2 separate regions of the Homo sapiens genome follow, and region 1 is linked to region 2. The links are contacts of gene promoters, found by promoter capture Hi-C in blood cells and fetal thymus (Javierre and others, 2016). All regions are on one chromosome and are shown on one strand. The core of a region is centred on a gene start or on the middle of the fragment in contact, and the rest is flanking DNA. Distances in the headings are between cores, read along the strand shown.

Region 1 (6,082 bases), core at 1,991-4,490, 100 kb after region 2:
TGGCATCATAACCTCTGAAATGGGGCCCTTGTGATGGGGGAGGTCACTGAGTTTGGGTTCCCCCAGAAATCCTTTGGCCCCAGTACCCAAATGGCTCCAGGTTGAGTATCCCTCAAGCTGATGACTTATAAATTACCAGGAAATTTGGCTGCAGAGTGAAAACACCAAAGTTGAATCCCATCTATGTTAATGTCCATGTAAAGTAGGAGCAGCCAGGAGTGTGTGCTTCATGGTCTTTGCTCTGCTGTTCCTGGGCACTGGATGAGATGTCTTTTTCCAATAATGATGATTAAGATGGTGATATTAATAATTCTTTATCTTCATTGAGCATGTAATAATTTTAAAAGTCTTTTCTGCCTACCAGACTTCTTCCCTCCCAGCTGAGCAGGGCACTGGCCAGTGTTCCCACTTCACAGTTAAACTGAGCCAGGTCCTGAGAGGCTGGGAGGAAGAGTCAGGCTCAGTTCATGGCCTTGACTCTCTCCTCAGTCCAGAGACCCACGTTGAGCCATTCCCAGCGCTGTCTCCTGCATTTTATAGTAGCGACCTCCCACAATTTCCCAGCTCTGAAATCAAAGTTCAAGGCTGTCTGCTTTTTTTCTCTACTGGAGTCCTGTTGGTGACAGTTTGGACCCACCAATACCCTGTTGATCCCCCTGAGCCCTGCCTTTTTGTTTACTGCACAAATATGCACTGTTCAGAAAACAAACAACAAAAAGGGAAGCAATTCTGTTTACTAGACTTTTTGTTTGTTTGTTTGAGACAGGGTCTCTCTTTGTCGCCCAGGCTTGAAAGCAGTGCTGTGGTCATGCCTTTTTGCAACCTCTTTCTCCCATGCTGAAGCCATCCTCCCACCTGAGCCTCGGGAGTAGCTAGGACTACATATGCCTGCTACCATGCCTGGCTAATTTTTTTCATGTTTTGTCGAGATGAGTCTCTTTAGATTGCCCCGCGTGGCTTGCTGGATATTTGAGCCAAGGAAACTTGAGTGGATCTCATAACCTCAAGGGACCACATGTCCTTGAATGATGGACAGCCACCATTTCTGTCCTATCTACCTTATGTGGGTTTGACAGGCCTCTCCAGGCCTGGATCTGAGTCTAATGCAGGGCTTAAGTGATGCAGGCCTCTGGGCCACTGTAAGTCACCACGGAGCGTTTCTCCACCGAGCTCCAGCGGCTGCGGGGCCCGGCGCCGCCCTCGATTAATGCTGGCAGCGCCACCAAGCGGGCAGCTGGGAAACAGCGGCCACCTCATTCCAAGGAAGCGGGGAGGCGGAGAGAGTGGGGAGGGCCCCGCTTTGGTCGCGATCCGGTGGACACCATCCCGGCGGGGAGGAGCCTTCCCACGAGGACAGATGGCGACACACACGCCTGTTGGAGCATCCTGAGGCCCGCCTCTGTGGCTTCTGTTGTGACGCAAGCGTTCCCTCCGCGAGTAGGGTCTGTGGCCGGGGCTGTGTCTGCGGGACTGGGAAGCTCTCCCGTGAGGTATGTCTCGGGACCTTCCTGTCTGTGACTGGAGGGCATCTGCGGGCAGATGGGGCACCTGCACCTCCATCTCCGCTGCCCCTGCCCTGCCCTTCTACCCAGGCCTTGCAGTCACCAGAGATGGGATCCAGGCTCAGCTCGGCCACGTCTGAGCTTCTTGCCATCTGGGAAACGGGGTGCAGAGAGACATCCCCGGTTGAAAGCTAAACCTTCTTGCTGCAAGCCATGCCAGGGAGGTAGGTCAGAGGCCAAAAGCCTTTGCCTGAAATTTACGGCCCCGCAGTTGGGCCTTAGTCTCCTCTTCCAGTTTTATTTATTTATTTTTTTTAGAGACAAGTCTCACTCTGTCACCCAGGCTGGAGTGCAGTGGGGCGATTATAACTCACTGCAACCTCGAACTCCTGAGCTCAAGTGATCCACCTCAACCTCTGGCGAAGCTGGGACAAGCCAGTGCCACCTGCCCAGCCAAGTTTTGAATTTTTGCAGAGACGAAGGTCTCACTATATTGTCCAGGCTGGTCTCAAATTCCTGCCTCAAGTGATCCTCCTGCTTTGGCCTCCTGAAGTACTGGGATTACAGTCGTGAGCCACCAAGACTGGCCTCCTCTTCTACCCTCAACTCCAGCTACTTTTTTATTTTTGAGATGGAGTCTTGCTTTGTTACCCAGGCTGGAGTGCAGTGGCACGATCTCGGCTCACTGCAACCTCTCTCCTGGGTTCAAGAGATTCTTCTGCCTCAGCCTCCCAAGTAACTGGGACTACAGGCACACACCACCGTGCCTGGCTAATTTTTGTATTTTTAGTAGTGATGGGGTTTCACCATATTGGCCAGGCTGGTCCCGAACTCCTGACCTCACGATCCACCCGCCTTGGCCTCCCAAAGTGCTAGGATTACAGGTGTGAGCCACTGCGCCTGGCCGACTCCATCTACTTTTTACTCAGCCAGAGGGGCTCACTGTCCCTCTGAAATATCTCCACGGTTTCCCACCTCCACACCATCCGTGGTGCCTGGAAGGCATCTCCCCCAGCCCTCCTGAGATCCACACAAATGTTCATATTGGATGTGTAGATGTGGGGTATTATTATCTTAATGTTTTCTAATTATATGTGCTCTTCTATACACAAAAAGTGTAAAGAAAAAGTATCACCCACTTTCCTGAATTATTCCACTATTCTGATTTAACTATTTTATGTATATATACTTGTAGAGACAGGGTCTGGCCATATTGGCCAGGCTGGTCTTGAACTGCTGGCCTCAAACAATCTGCCTTCCTTGGCCTCCCAAAGTGCTGGGATTCCCGTCATGAGCCACTGCGCTGTGCCCCTATTATTAATTTTTAATTAATGTATTACTTAGACTTAAAAACATTTTTCTGTGCAAATACATATATGTATTTTACATACATGGACTACGTGTACTAACCACCTTTTAGTGTGGAGAAGTTACGCCTCTGCAGCCGGTTACTGAGCTTCTCGAAAGCGGAAGCTCCTACCCATCCGTCAAAGTGCAGCCCATGTCACTCCGCCCTGGAGGTCTCTGTGACTCAGACAGGCAGCGTTTACTGTCCTCTCACCTGGTTGTCGATGATACCTTGACCACACTTTAATTTCGGTACTTATTGTCTTATATTTGGCTATTGGTTTATGCATCTGAACTCTCCACTTGATTGGTACACATGGCACCCTCAGGCGTAGCTAATTTTTTACTTTTTCTAGAGATGGGGTTTAGCTGTGCTGCCCAGGCTGGTCTTGAACTCCTGAACTCAAGCAATCTGCCTGCCTCGGCCACCCGAAGTGCTGGGATTACAAGCATGAGCCACCGTGCCTGGGTGCTGCTATCTTCTAAATGAGCAGAATGCATAGATTCCTCTCTAGGGTTTGCAGATTTGAAAAGATGGGGTTTTGCACCATGCACCTAACATTCTTCTTGCCAGAAGCGCTCTGCAGAACAAAGGAGTTTTATGAAGACTAGGTGCCTCTAGCCTATCTTCTATCCTGGAACCTCAAACCTGGTAATCCATTATTTATTCAACAAATATTGATTGAGCACCTACTATGTGCCAGATACTAAGTTTAGAGAGTATAATAGTGAACAAAACAGAAATCCTTGCCTTCTATGGGACTTACATTTTACTGGAGGCATTCAGACAATAAACAAAGTAAATACTTAAAATATATAGTATGTTCGACGGTGTTGAGTGTTTGGGGAAAAATAAAGTGGAAGGGACAGTCCTATCCTTAGACCTGGGTAAGAGGGTCCCTTTCCCCAAGCTCCACCCTTCTCTAAGCCCCTCCAGGGCAAAGAGTCTGCCAGGACAAGGGGATGTGGCCCCTGGGAGCCCAAGATCCTTCTCTAGGTTTCACTCTGGTTATCCAAGACCTCAAGAGTTCCTGCTCAAATGGCACTGAACCCATGTTCGGGGCTTGTTTGTGTTCCCATAGGTCTGACCCTGAGAGAGTGGAATGTACCTGTAAGCCAAAAGTACAGTCAAGAGGTGACTGTTTCCTGGGGATGTAGCTGGGATGTTCACTTGTATGACTGAGGTGCAGGATGAAAATGGGTGTGGGAAGAGAAAGGGGGTAAACCATCATTTTTACTCTTTTTTTTTTTTTTTTTTTGACACAGAGTTTTGCTCTGTCACCCAGGCTGGAGTGCAGTGCGGTGATCTCGGCTCACTGCAACCTCCACCTCCCGGGTTAAAGCGATTCTCCTGCCTCAGCCTTTGGAGTAGCTGGGGTTACAGGCACATACCACCATGCCTTCTAATTTTTTGTATTTTTAGTAGAGATGGGGTTTCACCATGTTGTCCAGGCCGGTCTTGAACTCCTGACCTCAGGTGATCTGCCCACCTCGGCCTCCAAAGTGCTGGGATTACCGGCATGAGCCCCCATTCCCAGCCCATTTTTAATCTATTTCCAGGCTTTCCAAATGTTAGGGACAGGACTGGGAAGATAGATATGGAGACGGGGGGGTGGGGTGTCACTGCAATTTTAAGTAGAATGGGCAGGGAAGGTGACATTTTACTAAAGAAGAGGAGGAAAGGAGTGGTATGTGTAGATATAACTGAAAGTGCCCTCCAGGCAGAGGAAAAGTGAGTACGAAGGTGTGGAGGCAGCAGTGTGCCTGGGATGCCCAGGAAAAATAAACCTGGGTACTCGCCAGGTGCCATGGCCCAGGGGGACCTGCCAGATTTGTGCTTGTGCAAAACCTAAAAAAAATAGGCCCTTGAAGCCAGGCTCGGTGGCTCACTCCTGTAATCCCAGCATTTTGGGAGGCCGAGGCAGGCAGATCACAAGGTCAGGAGATCGAGACCATCGTGTCTAACATGATGAAACCCCGTCTCTAGTAAAAATACAAAAAAATTAGCCAGGCATGGTGGTGGGCACCTGTGGTCCTAGCTACTCAGGAGGCTGAGGGAGGAGAATGGCATGAACCCAGGAGGTGGAGCTTGCAGTGAGCGGAGATGACGCCACTGCCGTCCATCCTGGGTGACAGAGCAAGATTCCGTCTCAAAAATAAAAAAATAAAAAAAAAATAAGACCTCGATCAATGTTGGATTGAATGAACGAATGGTCCCACCTCTTGGAGGAGCCACTCCCAACAGCACACAGCTGCCTCTTCTTCCCGGCTCTGTGCCAAGGGGTGTTTCAGCTTTGCTTTGATCCTGATGACCAGGCACTGCTATTCTTTAGGCCGGGATTTCCCCAAGCCTTGGTATTTTTAAAAATACGTTATAGTTCCCTTGAAACTCTCTCCTTATCACCTCCACCTTCCTGTTTTCATCTCCCACTCCTTGGCACCCTCTGTCTCCCCACGGTGTCCCCATGACGCTGCCTGCATGCCCATTGGCCCCAGCCTGGGAGCTTCTCAGAGACGCCCGGGCCAGACATGGCTGCAGATAGAGCCAAGAGGGTGGCCTCGGGTGGCTGGTGGCAGTCTCCTGGCTGTGGGGGCAGAAGTGGGGGCCTGGGAGGTGGCAGGCAGCTCAGGCCTAAGGAAGGATGGAGTCAGAGCTCAGAGATGTGACCGGAAAGGGCTCAGCCACGGGAAGGAGTTTGGGGATTTACCCACGTAAGTACTGAATTATTCGGCCAAAATTGAAACGTAAATAGGAACTGAGAGATGTAAACAGAATTTGGAAATCATTGTTGCCTTGATGGCACTTTTTGATCCTGACAAATTTAGACTTTCCTTTGACAGTCTCATGGATGACGCCAGACGGAAATAAATATTTAAGCCCATGAAAGTTGGGAAGTTGAATAGGAAATTTCCCCTACAAGAGGCTAGGATTGCAAAAGGTCACAACTCTAGAGTAAAGGTAAACCAGATATATACCAGTCCTTCTGGGGGATATCAGCTAAAGTTCTCATTGCCTGGGTGGACCAAGGAACATCAAACTTTGGACTTGGTTTAAGGTACCTCTGAACAGATGCTGCTTTTTGAGCCTCTGAGTCAGCATGCGAATTCCCCAAACCCATCAAGGTGGAAGCTCGCTCGTGTCCTCTGCAATGCCTAACTGCCACCTTGTGGGGTTTCCATACTGCTTCTAATCATTGCAAGATTTCTTGTGGATATTTTCTGTCTTTACCCTC
Region 2 (6,298 bases), core at 3,762-6,261:
TTCCTGAAGCAGATTCCACCTGAGCTGTAATGGAGGCGTGGCAGGTGGCTAGGCAAGGAGCAGGAAGCCTATTCCAGGCAGGTGAATTGCTTGGGCCAAGGCCGGATGTGAAGTACTGTAGCCTGTTCGGGGGACAATAAGTGCTGCTAGGACTGGATCAGGGTGTGAAAGTAGTACAAGAATGGGTGGACAGGAGGCTGAAATCCCAACAAAGGATGTAGATGCCAAATGGCAAGGACGTTTTTATTCTATGCCAGAAGGCTTGATTTCCTTTAAATCAATCCATTGATTCGAAGACATTTCATTGGAGGAATTTAAAATGGAAGGATTATAATCAAGTGTGTGTTTTTATTTTTTATTTTTTTGAGACGGAGTCTCACTTTGTTGCCCAGGCTGCAGTGTGGTGTGGTGATCTCGGCTCGTGGGTTCAAGCGATTCTCCAGCCTCAGCCTCCCGAGTAACTGGGATTACAGGCACCCACAACCACGCTCAGCTAATTTTGGTATTTTTAGTAGAGACGGGGTTTCACCATGTTAGCCAGGCTGGTCTCAAAGTCCTGACCTCAAGTGATCCGCCTGCATTGGTCTTCCCAAGTGCTGGGATTACAGGTGTGAGCCACTGCACCCAGCCCAGTGTGTGTTTTAGACGAATAACTCTACCTGCCATATGGGAAAGGACAGGGGAAGTCAACTTCAACATGGTTTGGGAAAGAAGATGTGGCTTAAACCAAGATGGAGCAGAGAGGAGAGATTAAAATGAAAGGTATTTGTTTTCTTGGACTCCACAGGACTTGATGAATGATTTTGAAGGGGTGGATATAAGGAGAGAAAGGGCGTTATCAATGACACCTGGATTTTGTGATTACAAAACTGAGAGGCTGTTAACGCTATCCACAGGAGAAGCAGATTTAATGGAAGAGAGATTTAAAGAATGGGCACGTTAACTAACTTTGCATTGTTTAGGCACCATCGTGTCCTATACGCAGCTCAATTCAATAAATACTCATTGAGCACCCAATAAATATTCATTGAGCCAGTATGTGCTGGGCACTATTCCAGATGGTTGAGGGGACATTAGTGAGCAAAACAAAGGTGTGTCGTCACTGAGCTTAGATTTCTAGTGTTGACTTAAAAAATATGATTTATCAATTTAGAAAGGGAGAAGAGCCTTTATTTCTTCTAAAGGGTTACAGCATGCTTCCAGCTTAGACCACAGACGGGCACTTTGAAGGAAAAGGCGTTTGAGGTAGGAGCTTTATGCTGACTGGGTTGGCTAAACGTACATATTTAACAGATTACAAGAGGAGCTACGAATATTTATGATGGCGGACCTGACACATTGAACAAACATGTATGTAATATATGACCCATATTCACTTTGGGATAGAGACTCAACATGTGAATGCATTACAATTACACCCTATAGGTCAAAAGGTCTTTTTAGGACAGGAAGGCGCCTTGAGTGTACAGTTTCTGTAAACTGGCCAGACCAGTCCACGGTCGGCGGTCTTATCAGGAGAAAGTTACTGAGATCAATCTCTTGACCAGTCAAAGCTGTAGTTATGGCTGGTGGAACAGGGGTTCAATTAGTCACTGTCTGGTGGAGCTGCAGGTGTTTTACTATTGCTTATCTCAAGGCCAGCGTTTAGCTGCTGGAGAAAAAGAAGAGCCCTGTGGCAGTTAGAGCTTAGTTGATTCTTCAAGTGTAGGGGTGCCTGACTTCACCATTGCCTGCATGGCCTTAGGTCCTGTTTATAATTGGGTATCTTATTGCCACAGAGTCTGTTCCGTTAGTCTTATGATCTCTGTTTTAATGTTAATGCCAGCCAGTTGTGTATGAACTCCAAAAGGAAGGGGGTACAATGAGGGCTATCTGATCTCCTGTCCCGTTATTTGAAATGCTTTTTCCCTGGTGCTGGAAAGAAATAGCACTTGTAGGCTGGGAGCCGTGGCTCACGCCTGTAATCCCAGTACCTGGGGAGGCTGAGGCGGGCGGATCACGAGGTCAAGAGATTGAGACCATCCTAACCAACATGGTGAAACCCTGTCTCAACTAAAAATAAAAAAATTAGCTGGCCGTGGTGGTACATGCCTGTAGTTCCAGCTACTCGGGAGGCTAAGGCAGGAGACTCACTTGAACCTGGGAGCCAGAGGTTGCAGTGAACCAAGATCGCGCCACTGCACTCCAGCCTCACGACAGAGTGAGACTCCATTTAAAAAAAAAAAAAAAATGAAGAAGAAATAGCACTCGAAGGCTGGGCGCAGTGGCTTGCCTGTAATCCTAGCACTTTGGGAGGCCGAGGAGGGTGGATCATGAGGTCAGGAGTTCAAGACCAGTCTGGCCAACATGGTGAAACCCTGTCTCTACTAAAAATCGAAAAATTACCCAGGCGTGGTGGTTGGGCGCCTGTAATCCCAGCTACTCGGGAGGCTGAGGCAGGAGAAGCACTTGAACCCAGAAGGCAGAGGTGGCAGTGAACCGAGACTGTGCCACTGCACTCCAGCCTGGCAACAAGAGTGAAATTCTGTCTCAAAAAAAAAAAAAAAAAAAAAAAAAAAAAAAAGGCGCTTGAACATTAATTTACTAAGCAGGCCATTTTTACTTCCTGCAGAAAGGGTACACTCGCCAGCAGTTTTGCCATGGGAGTATACCAAACAAAGGAGACAGGGTCATTTATAACCTGACTCGTCCACCCCACTGCTTGTGTCTAGTTTCCATTGGCTGGAACGGTGCCTCACGTTCTGTATTTGTCCCGATTGGCTAGCAACTTAGAAGTTTTTAAAAGAGGCAAAGGTAGAGGAGAACAAAGGAAGGAGGAAGTAACTTGTGGAATGGTGACAAAGGTTGAAACACCTTCAAATAAGGAAGAGGAACAGGCTATGACCTAATGCTTTCTTGGACCACTATAAGCATGCCAGGGCAAATATTTAGGCTAAATTGTGAGAGCTAAGAACATGAAGTACATTGATTTCTTTATCATAGCTAGCAGATATTTAAGAATGTTAGCACAGGTCTTTGAATAAAGTTTGCTTCTAAGAGAAGTTACTATTTATTCCTAATTAAATGGGGAGGAAAGTCTTTGAAGAGGAACCTCTACTTTACTTTTTATACCGTCATGGCTGGAAACTAAGTTTTTAAGATTTTTCTGGGGTTCCCTTGGCCGAGGTGGGGAGTGGGAGGGCTGTCCAGTGGTAGGGACTTAGGATTTTTAGTTTACAGTAGTAGGGGAAACACTCTGTAATCTAATACATAAGTAAATGATGTATTAGAATATGGTAAATATAGGCAAGTAGACCCCCACTGGGATTAGCAGTGGTGGAAATGTGAGAGAGGGCAAACAGGTGGGTCTAGATGAGGTGTGAGCAGACTCGAGGGGCACAGGAGTTAGTCAAGCCAGTATCTGGGGGATAGTGCAGGAATAGTGAACAGCTAGACAAAAAGTCCTAGGGCCAGAGAAAGCAAAAGCATAAGAGATGGAGGCCAGAGAGGTAATCTGGGTGGAAGGCTGCAGCCTCTCAGGATCCCTATAGGTGCTTTGGCTTTTGTTGGAGAGACACTGAACAGCTTTGGGCAGTGAACGTACCTGACAGGTTTCCTGTTTGTTTTTGAGATGAAGTCTCGCTCTTGTCCCCCAGGCTGGAGTGCAATAGCGCGATCTCAGCTCACTGCAACCTCTGCCTCCTGTGTTCAAGCGATTCTCCTGCCTCAGCCTCCCAGGTAGCTGGGATTATAGGCGCCTGCCACCATGCCTGGCTAATTTTTGTATTTTTAGTAGAGACGCAGTTTCAGCATGTTGGCCAGGCTGGTCTTGAACTCCAGACCTCAGGTGATCCGCCCGCCTTGGCCTCCCAAAGTGCTGGGATTACAGGCATGAGCCACCGCGCTCGGCTAGACCTGACAGGTTTTAAAAGGATTACTGGTTGCTGTGTTAAAACAGACTGCAGGATGGCTTAGGTAGCCAGTAGGTTTTTTTTTTTTTTTGGAGACGTAGTCTTGCTCTGTTGGCCTGGCTGGAGTGCAGCGGTGTCATCTTGGCTCACTGCAAACTCCGCTTCCCGGGTTCAAGTGATTCTCCTGCCTCAGCCTCCGGAGTAGTTGGGACTACAGGCGCCCACCACCACACTCGGCTTTTTTGTATTTTTAGTAGAGACGGGTTTCACCATGTTGGCCAGGATGGTCTCGATCTCTTGACCTCGTGATCCACCCGCCTTGGCCTCCCAAAGTGTTGCGATTACAGGCGTGAGCCACCACGCCTGGACGGGTAGCCAGTAGTTTCTAGGGCTGGAGAGATCTAGGATGAGAGAAGTTTCCACATTCCTGTTACAGGCTCTCTAAGGCTTCAGCTCCTTTTTCTAGGACTAAGCTGGATCTCAAGTAAACACTAGAGAGGGGGCAGCTGAAGCTCCAGGAGTGTGTGGGGCTCCCTGGGGCTGGATGGCGGTGGCGGGCAGGCGAGCTGGGCTGTGCTCGGGTGTGTTACAGTAAAGACGCCCAGCTTGGCGCTGGCCCGGCCTTTTCACGGTTTTAGGCTCTACAGAGAGCGGCTGCAGAGCTCACCCGGCTGGCAGGAGCCACCGAGGCCGGACACGTGGGCGACTTATTGACCAAGTGGGGAGGAAGCAGCCCCGCACTGCTCTCCCGACTGCGGACCACCGTTGGGCTCCTGCGCATCCTAAGCCCCACCGCCTCACCTCCAGTCCCCACAGCGTTCGCGCTCCCAGCCGGGGTAAGCGGAAGAAAACAAAGGCCCGGCTCCATCAGGGCACCAATCCCGCTCGTCGGCCTCTTTCTCGGCCTCCAATGAGCTTCTAGAGTGTTATCACGCCAGTCTCCTTCCGCGACTGATTGGCCGGGGTCTTCCTAGTGTGAGCGGCCCTGGCCAATCAGCGCCCGTCAGCCCACCCCACGAGGCCGCAGCTAGCCCCGCTGGCGGCCGAGGCCGGTTGAAGTGGGCGGAGCGGCGGGCGGGGCGTCGCCGTACTAGGCCTGCCCCCTGTCCGGCCAGCCCCTCGAAGCACCTACTCCACAGGTCCAGCCGGCCGGTGAGCGCCTGGGGACCGCAGAGGTGAGAGTCGCGCCCGGGAGTCCGCCGCCTGCGCCAGGATGGAGTTCGTGAAATGCCTTGGCCACCCCGAAGAGTTCTACAACCTGGTGCGCTTCCGGATCGGGGGCAAGCGGAAGGTGATGCCCAAGATGGACCAGGTGGGCCGAGCCTCCCTGCTTGCCCGGGGCGGGGAAGGAGCTCGCTGGGCCGGCCTCAGGGCCTGAGCGGCCGGGCCCGGATCTGGGGCAAGGGGCGCGGCGAGCAGGGCCGACGCCTGGGTGTTCCCGTCCCCCTTTCCTCGAGCCTTCCCCCTGTAGGGCCCGGGTGGACGCGGCCGTCCTGGCTGACCTGTCCCTGCCCCCGCAAGCCGCCCTGGGCATGAGCGACTTTTGCGTGGTTCCCGGTGGTTGCGCTCCCCGTTTCGTCCCCTCCGTGAGCATCGGCGCTTACCGGTATTTTAACCCGAGGGTTACACATCTGAGGCAATGTGGGTGGGTTACGCGGGAGAGGACGAGTGAGTTTTTTGGTAAGCGGAATGAACTATGCAGATAACATCACATGAAGGCCGTTTCTGGAATGAAGTCTGACTCCTCCAGTTTCACCACCTCTTCCGGAGCTCTCCCCGCCTTGCTGCCTTCCATCGCTTCATCCTCGGTGCTTCCTGAGTTTTAAAATCGCCTATCTACGCTTCCAAGTTCCAATGAGTTATCTAACGTCTATGGATTAGCTAGGTGGTTGGTGGAAGGTCAGAACTTGGTTTTACTTAGATTTTTATCTGCCTCATGCCTGTACTATTTGTTTAATGAATGCATAGGAGGTGTTTTTATTCCAACAAGAAAATTATTCGTACGCGATTATTGAATGAATAGACAAATTCAGCCAAGTTCTTCTGGTCTGGACCAGCCTGGCTGATTTCTGTAACTTTTTTGGGCCAACAGGACAGTAGCAAATGTGACTCAGGCCGAGGCTTGATAGGTGCCTGAACATCGGAGTCTTTCTTTCAGTGTCCATGTGCTTCAGTAAACACACTAGAAAATAAATTTCTGGTTTTTGTCCCCAGTAGACTACACCCTCATTTGGTGTTATTTTTCACGTGCTATCTTTAATACAGGTACATCCTTCAGTCTATTTGTAGAACATTCAGTTTTCTTCATCTTTTCTTTGCCGGTGCTACATTATTTGAATTATTTTGCTACAGAATAACTTCTATTATTTGATATGGCAGATGTCACTTTTTATATTTAGATATAGCAT

What was found. The method cuts DNA at HindIII sites, captures the fragments that hold promoters and counts their contacts. A CHiCAGO score of 5 or more calls a contact.
Region 1: a contact is called between a fragment that was not itself captured here and the fragment with the promoter of FDFT1 in region 2, in 5 of 17 cell types (neutrophils, monocytes, erythroblasts and 2 more). The highest score is 7.2, in neutrophils.

The regions. Positions count from the first base shown.
Region 1 is chr8:11,901,204-11,907,285 of GRCh38, forward strand. No RefSeq gene overlaps it. Among named protein-coding and RNA genes, the nearest start is that of CTSB, 36 kb to the left of the region's middle. RefSeq lists enhancers at 1,029-1,530, 1,264-1,503. The HindIII fragment of the contact is 9,699 bases long and covers 1-6,082 here.
Region 2 is chr8:11,797,730-11,804,027 of GRCh38, forward strand. FDFT1 (farnesyl-diphosphate farnesyltransferase 1) reads left to right here and starts at 5,012. Exons shown (of 8, transcript NM_004462.5): 1 at 5,012-5,202. The coding sequence starts at 5,104. LOC105379243 (a long non-coding RNA gene) reads right to left here and starts at 3,626. Exons shown (of 3, transcript XR_948962.4): 1 at 3,584-3,626. RefSeq lists enhancers at 2,286-2,929, 3,059-3,801, 3,802-4,543, 4,581-4,740 and silencers at 2,574-2,633, 4,811-5,060, 5,271-5,390. The HindIII fragment of the contact is 12,361 bases long and covers 1-6,298 here.